5 separate regions of the Homo sapiens genome follow, and all the other regions are linked to region 1. The links are contacts of gene promoters, found by promoter capture Hi-C in human tissues and cell types (Jung and others, 2019). All regions are on one chromosome and are shown on one strand. Each heading gives the region's core, a stretch centred on a gene start or on the middle of the fragment in contact. The rest is flanking DNA. Distances are from core to core; before and after follow the strand shown. Region 1 holds the start of NR2E1 (nuclear receptor subfamily 2 group E member 1). Region 2 has its middle 21 kb from the start of OSTM1-AS1. Region 3 overlaps SNX3 (sorting nexin 3). Region 4 overlaps OSTM1-AS1 (OSTM1 antisense RNA 1). Region 5 overlaps SNX3 (sorting nexin 3).

The links. The method cuts DNA at HindIII sites, captures the fragments that hold promoters and counts their contacts. A contact is called where the count stands out against the background at its distance.
Region 2: a fragment that was not itself captured here is called in contact with the fragment with the promoter of NR2E1 in region 1 in 1 of the 25 tissues and cell types used here (thymus).
Region 3: a contact is called between a fragment that was not itself captured here and the fragment with the promoter of NR2E1 in region 1, in 1 of the 25 tissues and cell types used here (pancreas).
Region 4: a contact is called between a fragment that was not itself captured here and the fragment with the promoter of NR2E1 in region 1, in 4 of the 25 tissues and cell types used here (H1 embryonic stem cells, aorta, mesendoderm cells and 1 more).
Region 5: a fragment that was not itself captured here is called in contact with the fragment with the promoter of NR2E1 in region 1 in 1 of the 25 tissues and cell types used here (H1 embryonic stem cells).

The regions. Positions count from the first base shown.
Region 1 is chr6:108,164,422-108,167,417 of GRCh38, reverse strand. It overlaps NR2E1 (nuclear receptor subfamily 2 group E member 1), which reads right to left and starts at 1,396. Exons shown (of 9, transcript NM_003269.5): 1 at 628-1,396. The coding sequence starts at 652. RefSeq lists enhancers at 1-551, 1,452-2,353. The HindIII fragment of the contact is 11,535 bases long and covers 1-2,996 here.
Region 2 is chr6:108,101,077-108,104,072 of GRCh38, reverse strand. No RefSeq gene overlaps it. Among named protein-coding and RNA genes, the nearest start is that of OSTM1-AS1, 21 kb to the left of the region's middle. The HindIII fragment of the contact is 3,481 bases long and covers 1-2,996 here.
Region 3 is chr6:108,226,770-108,229,765 of GRCh38, reverse strand. All of the region lies in intron 1 of SNX3 (sorting nexin 3), which reads left to right. Among named protein-coding and RNA genes, the nearest start is that of SNX3, 33 kb to the left of the region's middle. The HindIII fragment of the contact is 3,127 bases long and covers 1-2,996 here.
Region 4 is chr6:108,124,209-108,127,204 of GRCh38, reverse strand. The region is part of intron 1 of OSTM1-AS1 (OSTM1 antisense RNA 1); the gene reads right to left. All of the region lies in intron 1 of LOC124901368 (a long non-coding RNA gene), which reads left to right. Among named protein-coding and RNA genes, the nearest start is that of OSTM1-AS1, 2.1 kb to the right of the region's middle. The HindIII fragment of the contact is 7,245 bases long and covers 1-2,996 here.
Region 5 is chr6:108,210,131-108,213,126 of GRCh38, reverse strand. SNX3 (sorting nexin 3) reads left to right here. Exons shown (of 4, transcript NM_003795.6): 4 at 873-1,905. The coding sequence ends at 978. Among named protein-coding and RNA genes, the nearest start is that of NR2E1, 46 kb to the right of the region's middle. The HindIII fragment of the contact is 7,794 bases long and covers 1-2,996 here.

The sequences.
Region 1 (2,996 bases), core at 147-2,646:
ACTCCTGCCTCTGCTGGGCTCCGGCTCGAAAAGTCCTTGGGATTAGGGATTTGGTCCTCTCTTTGCTAGAGTGGTTCGCCATACTTTAAATTCCCCAGTTATGACCTACGCGGATTTAGGATTAAGGAAAATGTGACTTTTAAATTGTTTCTGCTTCCCAGTTTGCAGGATTATTTGAAATAGCTAGAAACGGGGTGCAAAGCATTCCATTCAAAATCCGCTTTGCACAGAGTTGCTTTTGCGCGCTGGAGCTCGGAGTTTTGAGCGAGTGTGTTATTGTGCTACCGCCTGGAGCTGCGGCCCAGTTCCCGCCCCCATGGCCCCCCCATCCAGCACCTGGCGGCTAAATGGAGACAACTCATCCGACTGGTGGGCTGCGCGGGTCGTAACCTTCTCACCGCACCAGACAGGGGGGATCAAGCAATCCAGAGGCAACGAAACGGCTCTCCCCTCTCCACGAAATGCTCCAACTCACGGTCTACAGGTCTGGGCCGAACGCACACGCCCGCTGGAATCCCTCTCAGGGGCTCAGATTCGCAGCGCTCCAGGCAGGACCTCCCCCAGCCTCCCCGCTCGCTCGCCCCAGGCTGCGCGCCTAGGCCCCACGGCGGCCCGAGAGGTACCCACTTGTTGATCCGGCTGGCTTGCTCATGCTGGCTGTCCCGGGGCGGAGCGGTTGGTGGGCGCTGCCCGAGTCCCGGCCGGCAGCGCCCGCCTCGCCGCCGGGCGCCGCCGCTCTCCAGCTGCCCTCCAGCCTGCAAGGCTCCTGGGCGGGACAGGTGGGTGTCAGTCGCGCGCTGCGCTGCTCCCTGGGCGCTCAGAATTCGTCCAACAGTGGAAATTTAAGCATCCTTAAGTTTCTTCCCGGCTCTTGCAAAACCGCAGCTGCTGGGAATGCTGCTTGATATGGACACACACATGGACAGACAGATGGAGAGATGGACAGGAAGACTGAGGAAGAAGGAAGAACAGCAAGAGAGGGATGTTGAAAGACAGAGATGGAGACACGAAAATGGCCTTCCTACGGAGCGAAATCCCTCTTTTTCCCCATTCCTGTCACTCAGTCTTCGATCTCTCCCTCTACATAGGCATGCAGAGTGTGGGCAATCTCTGCCGACCGCTGGTCTCCCAAGGAAAGAAGGAAAACACTACCGCAGTCTCAGAGGCAGACGGGCTCCGCGCTGCCGGAACCCAAGCGCAGAGTGGGAAAACTAGATTGCTGGGAAATCTTCCGAGGGAAGAGGCGGCCAGGTCCGGGTTTCCGGGGAGAGCCGCGCACGCAGCGGCGAAGGGTCCCCGAAGTTCATTACCCCGTGACTTTGTGCCTGTCGCTGCGGGCTGGGTCCCCTGTAATATCTCCAGAAGCGCTCTGACAGGCAGCCGCGGGGAGGGGAATAGGGCGTCCCTGGCCCACTTAGCTTTTCCCCCAACTCCTGGCGGGGTCTGACGTCAGCCATGTGCGGGGAGGGGATGGGAAGAGGGAGGGGGTTAAATGCTAATGATATTAATGAACCTCCAAGCGGCTCCCAAAGAAAATGCAGGCGCTGTCGGAGCTTACGAGTTAGAAAGTGTGAATATGGGAGTGTGGCTCTGTGCGTGCGTGATGGTGAGGACGGTGCGGCTCGTAATAAAAATGAATTCGTATATTTCACGGCAAGAAGGAAGGGGAGGGGTGACGGGGCTTTCTCAAAACGCTTTTCCCCCTCTCTCCAGAGTGCCAGATAGATTCGCGGAAGAAATTGGGTGGCTGTGTGCTGGCGTGTGATTGTGCGCGCCGGACATGGCCATGTGAGTTGGTTCATTCTTGGTCCGGTGCCCCTTCTGTTGGGTAAAACTTGGATCTGGCCCGAGGTGAGTAATTTACTCATTTTGCACATATCTACGGAAAGTCAGGGCTGAGGATGGGGTCTTCTGGAGGTTCCGCGTTCCTTCGGCCTTCGCGCAGTGGGTTTGGGCACCAGCCGAGGGGAGGATGCCGCCAGCTTCCCCAAGCAGAGCTGGCCCATCCGACGCTGAGCGAATCTCTTGTCGCCTCCATTATCTGCACCGGGGCGGCTGGAGGGCAGAGCGTTCCCTCCCGCCGCTCGTCCTCGGCGGGCGTTGCGGGCTCCCGCTCTCCGGGCGGAGGAATAGTGAAGAGAGGCCCTCATCCCCTACCCCCTCCCCATTCCGCTTGCCTTCCCGCGATTCCTGAGCTCTCTCGCGCCTTGCTCTGTGCGCGGCGCTGGGAGAGCGCATGCCGAGGGAGCGATGATCCCCGATCTCTAAGAGATTAATTCTATTTAAGCTCTCTCGGCAGCTTGAACTTGTCGAACAAGAGCTTGCCAGTCCCTCCTCAGGGCGTGGACCCGGCCAGAGGTCAGAGGTTACACCTCCCGCCCTCCGCTCGACGTTCGCGGGGAGGGGAGCTGTGGCCGGCGCTCTGCAATTCCGCCAGCCCACCCCCCGGTCCCTCTTTCTCCAGACTCGGTGTCATCCCGGGCTTTCAATCAGAGTTCGCCTGTGCGTGCAAGTGAATGCTGGAGTCCCCCGAGCCCTGGGAGGGCGCAGCAGGTCCTCCGCCTGGGCGTCCCAGGGGGAGCGGGCTGTGCGCTCCAGTGGGCTCCGACAGCACGTGATTGCAACTTTCTGCCCAGCCTTGGCTCGGCCTCGAGCTCGGGGTCTCGCACACCACACACACCAGAGCCTGTGTCCTCCTTAGTGGGGCGCCGCGACCAAGGCTGGGGTCCCGGGGAAAGAGCAAGATGGGGGGATCTTTATCTCTCAGTTTATTCCCTCCTCCTCGGTTTTTCGAATTGGGACGAGATTGGGGGATTGTGGGACGAGGCCATAAGCGCGTAGGGGTTTATTAGGTGACAGGAGGAGAAATCAGCGTTTTTTGACAGCCAACTTGTACAGCCGCTTGTGGAGCTAGCCCGACCGGCGGCGTAGCGCTTTCTCGAACTCGGCGCCCAGAGAGGGGAGGAATTTCGGGCAGGATTTGAGAAACACAATAA
Region 2 (2,996 bases), core at 354-2,853, 64 kb after region 1:
TTCCTAGTCTAGCCAGGTGCGGTGGCTCATGCCTGCAATCCCAGCACTTTAGGAGGCCAAAGCAGATGGATCACCTGAGGTCAGGAGTTCGAGACCAGCCTGGCCAACATGGTGAAACCCTGTCTCTACTAAAAATACAAAAATTAGCTGGTCGTGGTGGCGGGTGCCTGTAATCTCAGCTCCTCAGGAGGCTGAGGCAGGAGAATTGCTTGAACCCAAGAGGCGGAGGTTGCAGTGAGCCGAGATCGCGCCATTGCACTCCAGCCTGGGTGACAAGAGAGAAACTCTGTCTCAAAAAAAAAAAAAAAAAATTTCCTAGTCTAGAAAAGTGAGTGTGCACAGGCCTGTGGTATAAGTTTATTGACTCAGTGACCATGCAAGGAAAGTGCATGTTGGATGTATGAAAATGGATATATTTGGATATATGTAGGCATTAGCTGCCTACAAGCCTACGAACAGAGAGAAAGTGAACTTGTTTCTTTTTTTCTTTTTATTATGAAAAATTTAAAACATTACAAAGAGTAAGGACATAATATGATAAACACCCATATATCAATCACTTATGTGTAACAATTGTTAGTATTTTGCCTCATTTGCTTAATTTTTTTTTTGCTAAAGTATTTTGAAGAAAATACATGCTGTATACATCCCTAAAAGTTAAGAACAATTTGTCTACACAGCCTCAATGCCTTATCACACCTGACAAAATTAGCAAATGTTCTCTAATATTCTCTAATATCTACTTTACAAAATAAGCTTCACATGGTCATTTCATGGGTAAATGGAATTATGAACATTAAGTAGAGAAACCCATTCTCTAGCGACTGATATTCATCTTTATTGTCCACAGAGGTAGCTTGGTGTTATGAACAGCATTCTAGGGCTGAGGACAGCTGGGTTCTATTTTTGGGTCTGCCACTTACATATTGCTTAATTGCTCTTTGTCTCTTGCTCGTAAACAAAGAGGATGGACCAGTATTTGAAGAGCTGATAACCTGTAGGCCTAAAGATTATTTGGCTGTATTTTCACACATTATTGGGATTGTTCAGGGATGATGCAGGAAGAAATTGTTCTATCATAGTCGCAAACATTATTTCTATCTAAGGTAGCATTTTTTCCCTACAAGAATACACTTGTTTCACTATCTCCTTATTCTTTTCTTCTATGATGCTACTTAGTTGGGTTAAAATGATGGTGTCACTGTGGCTACCCCTTACAAGAAACTGAACCAGAAGATTTTTGGACTTTCCCAGAGTGACACAAGGAAGGAGATGAATGCCTCTAGGTTTTTAGTTCTTGACCAGCGTGATGGCCAGCTTTAAGTATTAACTTGGCTAAGATATAGCAGTACCCAGGTATTTAATCAAACAGTAATCTAGATATTGCCATGAAGGTATTTTGTAGATGTGGTTCACATGTACAATCAGTTGACTTTACATCAGAGAGATGACTCTCAATAGGTAGGGGGTCCTCATCTAATCAGTGAAGGACTTAAGAGCAAAAACAGGTTTCTTGAGAAGAAATTCTGCCTCAAGACTGCAACATCAACTCCTGCCTGAGTTTCCGGCCTGCTGGCCTGCCCCACAAATTTCAGACTAGCCAGCTGCCACAATTGTGTGAGGCAATGCCTTTATTTATTCCATAAAGAGATCATCTAATATATACAGTATATATCCGATTGGTTCTGTTTCTCCAGAGAACCCTAACTGATACAATCTGCTTTATAGACCAGAATAATTTTGAGCATATGTATGGTATATATTGCAAATTAGTTTGGCTTCCTCTCAGAATTTTATTAGTGTGGAATTTTAACTCTTTAGATACATGCTGTTTTGAAATCTAACTGTTTAATATCTAAGAAGAAAAACATTGAGCAAAAACAATACATCACAGATGGCAATGGTTTATTCAAAAGGAGAATAATGAATGCATAGCACTGGAGAAGCACCTGAAACTCCCTGGAATCACCTCCTAAATAAACTGCCTGAGCACAAGTCTTTAGTTCAAGCTCTGTTTTTTGGAAGCATCTAGGTTGAGACAATGACAGAAATTTACTATCAAGGAATGGCTTCAGGCTGTGTGCAATGTCTCACGCCACTAATCTCAGCACTTTGGGAGGCCAAGGTGGGAGGATCACTTAGGCTATGAGTTTGAGATCAGTCTGGGCAACATAGCAAACCCTATCTCTACAAAGAAACAAAATTAGAAAAAAAAAAAATTAGCCTGGCATGGTGACACGTGCCTGTAGTCCTAGTTTCTCAGCTACTCAGGAAGCTGAGGTAGGAGGGTCACTTGAAGCCAGGAGTTCAAGGCTGCAATGAGCTAGATAGTGCTACTGCACTCCAGCCTGGGCAACAAAGACCCTGTCTCTTTAAAAAAAAAAAAAAAAAAAAAGGGTGTGGGGGCGGGTGGGGAATGCCCTGGCCTCAAGAAGCAATTGGACCTGTTCATTAGAAATAATTCAAAATTAATTACTTCAAAATCATTTTTGAACAACAATGTTTTTCAAACATTAGTTTGGAGCTCTTTATATAAAGAAATCTTATTCAGAAATCCAGTGTACAAACAAAGAGAACTGGGCTTCCACTTGTATCCTTCTTCCAGAAAGTGCCTAAAATGTATTTGTGTTAGCGTGCTAGGGTGCCATAACAAAGTAGCACAGACTGCAGGGGGTTTACACAGCAAATGTGTTGTCTTACAGTTCTGGGGGTAGAAGCCTGAGATCAAGGTGTCAGCAGGGCTGGTTTCTTCTGCAGGCTGTGAGGGAAGTATCTGTTCCAGGCTTGTCTCCTTGGCTTGTGCATGGCCACCTTCTCTCCTGTGTCTCCTTACCTTGTCTTTCCTCTATCTATCCCTGAATCCAACTATCACCATTTTATAAAGACACCAGTCACATTGGATTAGAGCCCACTCTAATTGACTTCATTTTAACTTGATTACATCTTTAAAGGCTATCTCCAAATAAGGTTACATTCTGAGGTACTGGGGGTTAGGA
Region 3 (2,996 bases), core at 253-2,752, 62 kb before region 1:
TACACTGTACTTGTTTCTTCTCTGCATTTAGCTCACACTATTTTCACCATTTTCAGCTGTCTTATAGTATGGCTAGCTCTGTGTTAAAAGAGTCCTGGCTGAGGCCATTGCACTCGCGCCATTTTACCCTAGCATGGGCGACAAGAGCGAAACTCTGTCTCAAAAACAAACAAAACGAAAAAGAGTCCTGACTGGCCGTACGCAGTGGCTCACACCTCATATTCCAGCACTTTGGGAGGCTGAGGTGGAAGGATCCCTTGAGCCCAGGAGTTCAAGACCAGCCTGAGCAACTTAGGGAGACCCTGTCTCTAAAGGAAGGAAGGGGAGGGAGGGAGGGGGAGAGGGAGGGGAAGCAGAGAGACTGAGGAAAGGAAAGAAAAGGAGGGGAAAGAATGAATGAATCCGGGCCAAATCAATTGTCAATTCTTCCGTGCTTTTCATATTATACAAATGGTATTATGCTATATAATATACTGTTCTGAAACTTTTTTTTTTTTTTTTTTTTTGAGGTGGAGTCTCGCTCTGTCGCCCAGGCTGGAGTGCAGTGGCATGATCTCACCTCACTGCAACCTCCGCCTCCCGGGTTCAAGCGATTATCCTGCCATAGCCTCCGGAGTAGCAGGAATTACAGGCTCGTGCCACCTCACCCGGCTAATGTTTGTATTTTTAGTAGAGATGGGGTTTCACTGTATTGGCCAGGCTGGTCTTGAACTCCTGACCTCAAGTGATCCACCCGCCTCAGCCTCCCAAAGTGCTGGGATTATAGGCATAAGCCACCGCACCCAGCCTGAAACTTTTTACATGTCATACATTCTAGACAGCTTTTCTGATTAACCTATGGCTGAGTTATATTTTGTAAAAAGCTGTGTAATATAAGCTTGTAATGTAAGATTTATTGTTTCTGGTCTTTTTTGGGGTTTTTTTTTGTGTCTATTACAATGCTAAAATATTTTTGTATGTGTGGAAATATTTGTAGGATTAATTCCCATTGAAATTGTTCATTCAAAAGTTATGTGTATTTAATAGAGTAATGGATAATGTATTCACCAAAATGCCCCCCTTTTTTTTGAGACCGTCTCCCTCTGTCACCCAGGCTGAAATACAGTGAGTGATGTGATCACAGCTCATGCAGCCTCAGCCTCGAAGGCTGAAGCCATCCTGACACCTTATCTTCCCACTACAGGCATGTGCCACCATACCCAGCTAATTTTTTTTTTTTTAAACAGAGTTTCGCTCTTGTTGCCCAGGCTGGAGTGCAGTGGCGCAATCTTGGTTCACTGCAGTCTCCGCTTCCCGGGTTCAAGCAGTTCTGCCTCAGCATCCCGAGTAGCTGGGATTACAGGTACCCGCCACCATGCCTGGCTAATTTTTGTGTTTTTAGTAGAGACAGGGTTTCACCATGTTGTCCAGGCTGGTCGCGAACTCCTGACCTCAGATGATCCACCCGCCTTGGCCTCCCAAAGTGCTGGGATTACAGGCATGAGCCACCACGCCCAGCCTGCCCAGCTAATTTTTTATTTTTTGTAGAGATGGGGGTCTCACCATGTTGCCCAGCCTGGTCTCAAACTCCTGTGATCCTCCCACCTCAGCCTTCCAAAGTACAGGGATTACAGGCTTGAGCCATCATGCCCAGCCAGTTTGTAGTATTTTTAACCATGGAAATTCAACTTTTTATATGCTTATTTTCTAACCTTGATTGGTGTATGTTTCATAAGGGCCAGGTCTGCATCTTATTCATCATTATAAATAATGATTCTCCCTTATCTAGCATGGTGCCCTTTTATAGATGATCAGTAAATAATAGTTTAGTCCTCCTGAAGCTGTAGGTAAAAAACCTCTCCGCCCTTCAATCATTTTATGAAAGTTAAATAAATTGAAAGTGACCAATCACAGGAGTTTCAGCAGTGATAGTTCAGTACCTTAAACAACAACAACAACAAAAAAAAAAAACCCACATTTTGCACTTAGTTATTTTAATCAGTTACATTGAATTACAAATCCTTGTAATGATGAGGAAGACGTTTAACAGGCTAAGTTAACCACTGCATATGTAATGGGCAAGTGATGTTTGAATTTCTTGATGTGACTTTAAACTCTAAAGCAGTCCTCATGCAAAAAGAGAAATCATAACCAGTTAAGAAAACTAAAGGAACTTTCTTAAGCTAATCATGGTCCTCTAAATTTAAGTATATAAACTATCAAACTATTAGCTAATCATAGAAGGGAAAGTACTTTTCCCCCTCACCCCTCCCCTTTCTGTTAGAGTGAATCAGATATAATCATGATTGTGTCAAAAGTTCAAAAGGGAAAATGGAAGGTAAAATGAGCTGAATTGGCACTCTTCTCTCAACATTGTACCTGTAAGCTTGATATGTTGTTTCAGAGATTAACTTTATAGACTTCCGTACCCAGAAGTATGAAAATTCTTAGGGGACTCTTTTCGCAAGCTTGATCTTAACGTATTTGAATAAAGAGAGCAGTTAATCCCCTTTGTAAAGTAATTTGAGAGGAGGGAATTCAGAATGTAAAATCTCACCTGCAGAAAACACTCAACTCTGTAAAGGCCTTTTTATCTTTAAGGCATTTACAAAGACTTAATATTTTAATGCGGAAGGGTGAACTTGGTTAAAAAGCCAATAGGTGAAATTAGAGAGAAATAATCCAGTGCTTTCTTTCTGGGAATTATTCTACTCTCCAGGGGACCTAATTTTATTCCCTGTGGGGAATGAGAATACCCTCTGTACAACAAGCCAGCATCTTTAAATATAAGCTTGACTTTTAGTATAATAAGAGTCTTGTTAGGTGCAATTTTTTCCTTAGTCATTTATACAATGAACAAATGTTGTGGTTACCTGGGAAAGAAAATTCAAGTGCTTTTAAATCTCTTGTGAGATTTGGTTTCATGCTTGAAACCTATACACTGTTATGCCCAATAGCATCTGTTGAAAATTCTGAGCTGTAAGGTATACAACATAGAGAAGTTAATACACTTAGGA
Region 4 (2,996 bases), core at 179-2,678, 40 kb after region 1:
GAGCTGCTACTATACAATACAGTCAAGCTGCTACTATACAATACAGTCATTAATAATGTATTCTACTTTTTTAACTTATTCAACAAATATTTACCAAGGAGTATGTTGTTGAACAGGAACAAACATGGTCCCTGCCCTCATGGAGCTGACAATCTGGTAATTGAAGCACCCTCATACATTAAAAAGGCACTGGGGAGATGCTTCACCTCTCCCTCATGGGTTTTCTCAGTCCCTTCCAACATCACTTCTGACCAGGACTAGAAAGAAGTGGGGAAAGCAGGACAAACACGAGGGTCTGGCAGTCCAAAAAAGGGCTGGGGACTGAACACAAACCCCACATCAAGATTTTCAGATCACTGTTCCTGGCTGGGAGTTGGAAAGCTTGTTTTTTCTTCTTTTGTCACTGAGGCTAGAATATTCTCAGTGATCCTGCTTTTTTTTTTTTTTTTTTTCTAACAGTATCCAAATGCCATGTCTTGGTTTAACTTCAATCTGACAGTAACAAATATTTTTGAGAGCCTATGAAGGGTCAGGCACTGTGTTGGGCACTTTCCATATTTTGTCGTTAATTCTCATAACAACTTTGCAAGGTAGATACTATTACTATTCTCAATCTGCATTTGAAGAAATTGCAGCTTGTAGAGGATGTGGCCAAGATCACAATAGGTGGTTACAACAGAAATAAACCCAGTTCTGTCCTACTTGAGTGCCTTTCCTCTTCCTGCCTAGCCATGCAGGGCCTATAGTCAAACAGAACAGTGGGAACTTTGTTTTCCTATTTCTTCCCACAATAGGAGGGAAATGCTTTTCCAACACATCAAAGAATAATGATAACAATAGCTAATATTAACTGAGCAATTACTATGTGCCAGACACTATTCTAAGATCTTTACATATATCAACTCATTTAATCCTCATAAACCTATGAGTGGTTACTCTTATTATTTAATGTTATCTATCTGTCATTTTATAGATAAGAAATGGAGAGGTTAAGCAATATGGCAGAGGCAGTTTGAACTCAAGTTACCTGAGTCTAGAACTTTAAAATTGTTATTTCAGGCAGGGTGCGGTAGCTCATGTCTGTAATCCCAGCACTTTGGGAGGCCAAGGCAGGTGGGTCACTTGAGGTTAGGAGTTTGAGACCAGCCTGGCCAACATAGTGAAACCCTGCCCCTAACAAAAATACAAAAAATTAGCCAGGCGTGATGGCAGGTGCCTGCAATCCCAGCTACTTGGGAGGCTGAGTTGAACCCAGGAGGAAGAGGTTGTAGTGAGCCAATATGGTACCATTGCAGTCCAACCTGGGCAACAAGAATGAAACTCCATCTCAAAAAAAAAAAAAAGTTGTTATTTCATCCCAAATAAGTACACTACTTTCAACATCTATCACAGTTTTCTTAAGTTGCTGAAATAAAGGATGGGAGTGACCCCTCCGTCCTCACCTCCTACCCCCATGAGCAGAAGACACAATTCTGTCCACCCATAGTCTGTGTGAATGTTTCCCTCCAGCACAGTGCAGTGTGGAACCTATATAACTGTAAGCTGCAGCCATGAATTCCATCCACCATGAAATGGCACATGACCAAAAAATGCATGTACTGTATTCTAAATCTGAGCTATCTGCCTAATTTAGTTTTTGTTCCCAAGTGTAAAACATTCCAAATGTATAACATATCCCATAGATATGTGAGTTCCCTCAAAGGGTTAACAGCTCTCCTTGAGAAGAGGAATTGAAGAAACCTGAGAAACATTTTCTTTACCAGTTCAGGCAGGTGACAGAAAGGTAAAAAATTAATTTTAAAAATATGAGATGTTTGGGTCTTTATTCCCACTGGCTGGCTATTTGGGCAAATTGGGCAGTGGCATCACTGATTGGGCTCCAACTGCGGGCACAGCAGAGGCAGAAGGCAGCAGGAAATTATCAGGGCATCAGGCTGATGAATTCTAACCTCAGTCCACTAATGTCTCACCTAAGAACACGCTCCTTCTTTCTGCATCTCGGAGACACACATGAAGGTTCTCTGAAGCAGGCTGATATCCTCTAACGTAAAGGATGATATCCTATAGTTTATGGCTGGAACCATTAAGGGTGCTTGATAACTGCTCATTAAATAAATTAAGTGCCTAAAATATAATTACTGATGTTCTACTTTTCCCCTGTCTTTGCTGCACCACAGGAAAAAGTTTCCACGGCCATTGATTTATATGAGCAAAAACCAAAATTAAATTAAGAGGTCACACACCAGTAGCAAAAACAAAATGAGGAAAACATTTTCTAATGTTTTACTGCAAAGGAATCGGGGCTTTTACGTAATAGCAAAATTAGGGTTTAGATGGTAGTATTCTTTCAACCAACTTTTCACAAATATTTCCTGGAACTGGCCCAAGGAATGAATCCTAATTTAGCCTAATCTTTTTCAGATGTAATTGAATTCACTTGTTTAGGTTTCTGCCTCCTCCACCTTTCATCCGGTGGCAACACACGAGTGTGGCTTAGCTCTCACAGGGCCCACGGTTTAGTCTGCAGGCCATGTTGGGATCCACTTCTCCAGGGATTGGCCAGAGATCTCTGAGGCTCTCAGTCCTTTCTTCTACAGCTACTGTTTTCCCCCCACCCCTGAGAAATTCCTCCAGACCTTGTTTGTACTCCCCCATCTACTTATCAACTCCCCCCTCCACCTCTCTGCACCCCAATCACCAAAGTTTACTATGAAAATGAGTGACCCCATTTGCTGAGAAAGAGATAGTCTCTGGGAGCAATTGAGTGAGAGAAAACATGAACAAAAAGTCTAGAACCCTTGACTGAAATCACTTAGGATTGCACTAGCTGCCACTGAGCTGAAGCAACATGCATTCCTAGTGGCTAAGGGATCCGTGAAGCATGAGCTCGAATCCCTAGCTTTTGTTGTGTGGGGCTCAGGAAAGGATTTAGCACTACCTACATCAGGTTGGAGTGAAAGGTTTCTAAGGACGCACTCATTCCCATGATAGCCTCT
Region 5 (2,996 bases), core at 350-2,849, 46 kb before region 1:
ACTTGAGGTCAGGAGTTCCAAGGCCAGCCTGGCCAACATGGCGAAACCCTGTCTCTACTAAAAATACAAAAATTAGTGGGGCGTGGTGGTGTTTACCTGTAGTCCCAGCTACTCAGGAGGCTGTGGCAGGAGAATCGCTTGAACCTGGGAGACAGAGGTTGCAGTGAGCCAAGATCACACCACTGCACTCTAGCCTGGGTGATAGAGCAACACTTTTGTCTCAAAAAAAAAAAAAAAAAAAAAAGATTCTTAGGATCAATTGACATGCTTCACTTTTAACATTAAAATTAATTTAAGTTTCTTATGAATACACCAGCTATGATGTAAAGCTAATTGGGTACATGTGCCACAAGCAGTGAAAAATTTGTGATTAATGTTTTCTTAATTAGAGTTGTGAACCAAACAAAAGAACATATACCATTAGTTGATAGTGCATAGCTTTATGGACAGTCCAGAATAATACTTATTGGTAAACTGTACATGATTCTGAGCCGGGCGCAGTGGCTCACGCCTGTAATCCCAGCACTTTGGGAGGCTGAGGTGAGCAGATCACTTGAGGTCAGGGATTTGAGACTAGCCTGGCCAACATGGTGAAACCCCGTCTCTAGTAAAAATATAAAAATTAGCTGGGCATGATGGCACACGCCTGTAGTCCCAGCTACTCAGGGGGCTGAGGCACGAAATCACTTGAACCCAGGAGACGGAGGTTGCCATGAGCCAAGATCAGCCACTGCACTCCAGCCTGTGCAACAGAGCAAGACTCCATCTCAAAAAAAAAAAAATTATACATGCTTCTCAACTTTAAAATATGTGTTTTGAACTCCCCCACCTTGTATAAAATATTGGACTAAATTTATATTTTTTATTCTCAGGGTCGCTGGTCATCCTCTGGCACAGAACGAACGTTGTCTTCACATGTTTTTACAAGATGAAATAATAGATAAAAGCTATACTCCATCTAAAATAAGACATGCCTGAAATTTGGCAAGAAGGGGCAAAAACGTGACTATTAATGATTGATAAGCACCAGTGAAGAAGTTCTAACTTTTAGCATGCTGCACAGAAACTGGTATAACATGCCTTCAGTATACTAACACTCATATGCTCAGTTTTGTTTTGTTTTGGCAGTTGACAAGAAGTTAATTTGCTTTAGTAAAAATCCCTCATTCCAGCCTTTCTATATAAATAGCTCTTTCTTGCTGTTTTAATGTGGTGCACACTATAGCCTCACAAACCTGTTATTCCAGTGTAATCTGCAGTGTCGTAACTAAAGTTACTGGCTTGGTCTTATTTGCACAGTTTTTGCGTCTTGTTTGCTTCTTGCATCTGATTAACTAGAATATTTCTCTTTCCCCCTTTTAATTTGTGATGTCACTTGACCCCATTTATGTGTAGGAGCACTACACCATTGGTTTCCAATACTGCACACATAAGATACATACTTGTGTGCAGAAAGTATCTTCCTCCAGGCTTGTAATACCCTTCACATGGAAGATTAATGAGGGAAATCTTTATATTCTGTATAAAAACAAAAGCAAATTTATATACTAAAATCATTTGTCTAAAAATTTAAGTTGTTTTCAAATAAAAATTAAAATGCATTTCTGATATGCACTGATTGTGTTGCCTCCAGCTTTTTTTGCTCTCTATGAGTGACTACTTAAGTCACTTGTTGAGAGGGATTATTTACTAATTATATACTTCTCATTCCTGTAACTCCATTCCCTTTAAACAGTGGTGATATCAAATATACTTCCATCCATTGAATGGGGTATTTTTAACAACAACAAAAGTGATATACTAAAAAATGTATTGCTTAAGGCTTATTGAATCATTTTGAAGCACTTTGTGTATTTGAAAACTGCTTTATAATCTCATTTATTAAAAGGACTTTCAAAGATAAAATACCATTTCTCCTATTTTTCAGAAGTTTTTTCCTAGTCAACTGAGTGACTTGTTTAAACAAACTTAGCAAGGGTGTAATAACTCTTCTTAGTCAGCAGGTTTGTGCTTTCTCTTTAATTTGGTTTGGGATAGTAGCACACTTTATCCTCTTTAAGAGAAGGGCACAGTCTTCTAGCCTGACCTGCAAAAATGATAAGATACCAGAAAACACATGACTTCTTGCTGCCTAACTTGTGTTGTGTTCAGACCTTTCAGCCAGAATGTGGTCTCTAGTTTGTACAACTTGCGGTGGTTTGGGGACCCATTGTGACTTGGAGTTAAATCCCAAAGTAAAGAAATTTTGTCCTCCTACAGCAGATGCGTCTCCTCTGAAGATGGATCAGTCCATTTAAAAGGAAACAAGCTTGGGTCTTGGCCAAACTAGGATGTCCACCAAGCACATAGAAGTCATAGGAAGAAGTCAGAGTTGCCCCATAAGGCCTTTTGTTGCTCAAACAGTATTTCACAGTTCCCTAATACTGGATGTTTCAATTACTGTAAGAAGGTACAAAGCTAAACAACATGTAAATTTTATTTCAGTGAACTAGAGAAGTAAAGTCAGAGGCTGTCAGTTTTGGGTATGCAGAACAGAATAATGGTAGCTCTGCAAAACCAAATAATTCTTTAAAGCAGTGGTTCTCGGCAAGGCACAGTGGCTCTCACCTGTAGTGCCAGCACTTTGGGAGGCCAAGGCAGGGGGATTGCTTGAGGCCCGGAGTTCTGAGACCAACCTGGGTAACATAGTGAGACTATGTCTCTACAAAAAGTTTAAAAATTAGCTGGGCATGGTGGTGTGTGCCTGTAGTCCCAGCTACTTGGGTGGCTAGGTGGAAGTGTATCTTGAGCCCAGGAAGTTGAGGTTGCAGTGAGCCAAGATCATGCCACTTAATTCTAGCCTAGGCAAGAGTGAGAGACCCAGTCTCAAAAGAAAATTTTTTTTTCTGTTAAACATTAAAATAAAGCAGTGGTTCTCAACCAGGGATGATTTTGTCCCCCAGGGGACGTTTGGCAATGTCTGAAGATATTTTTGGTTGTCTCAACTAGGGAATGTT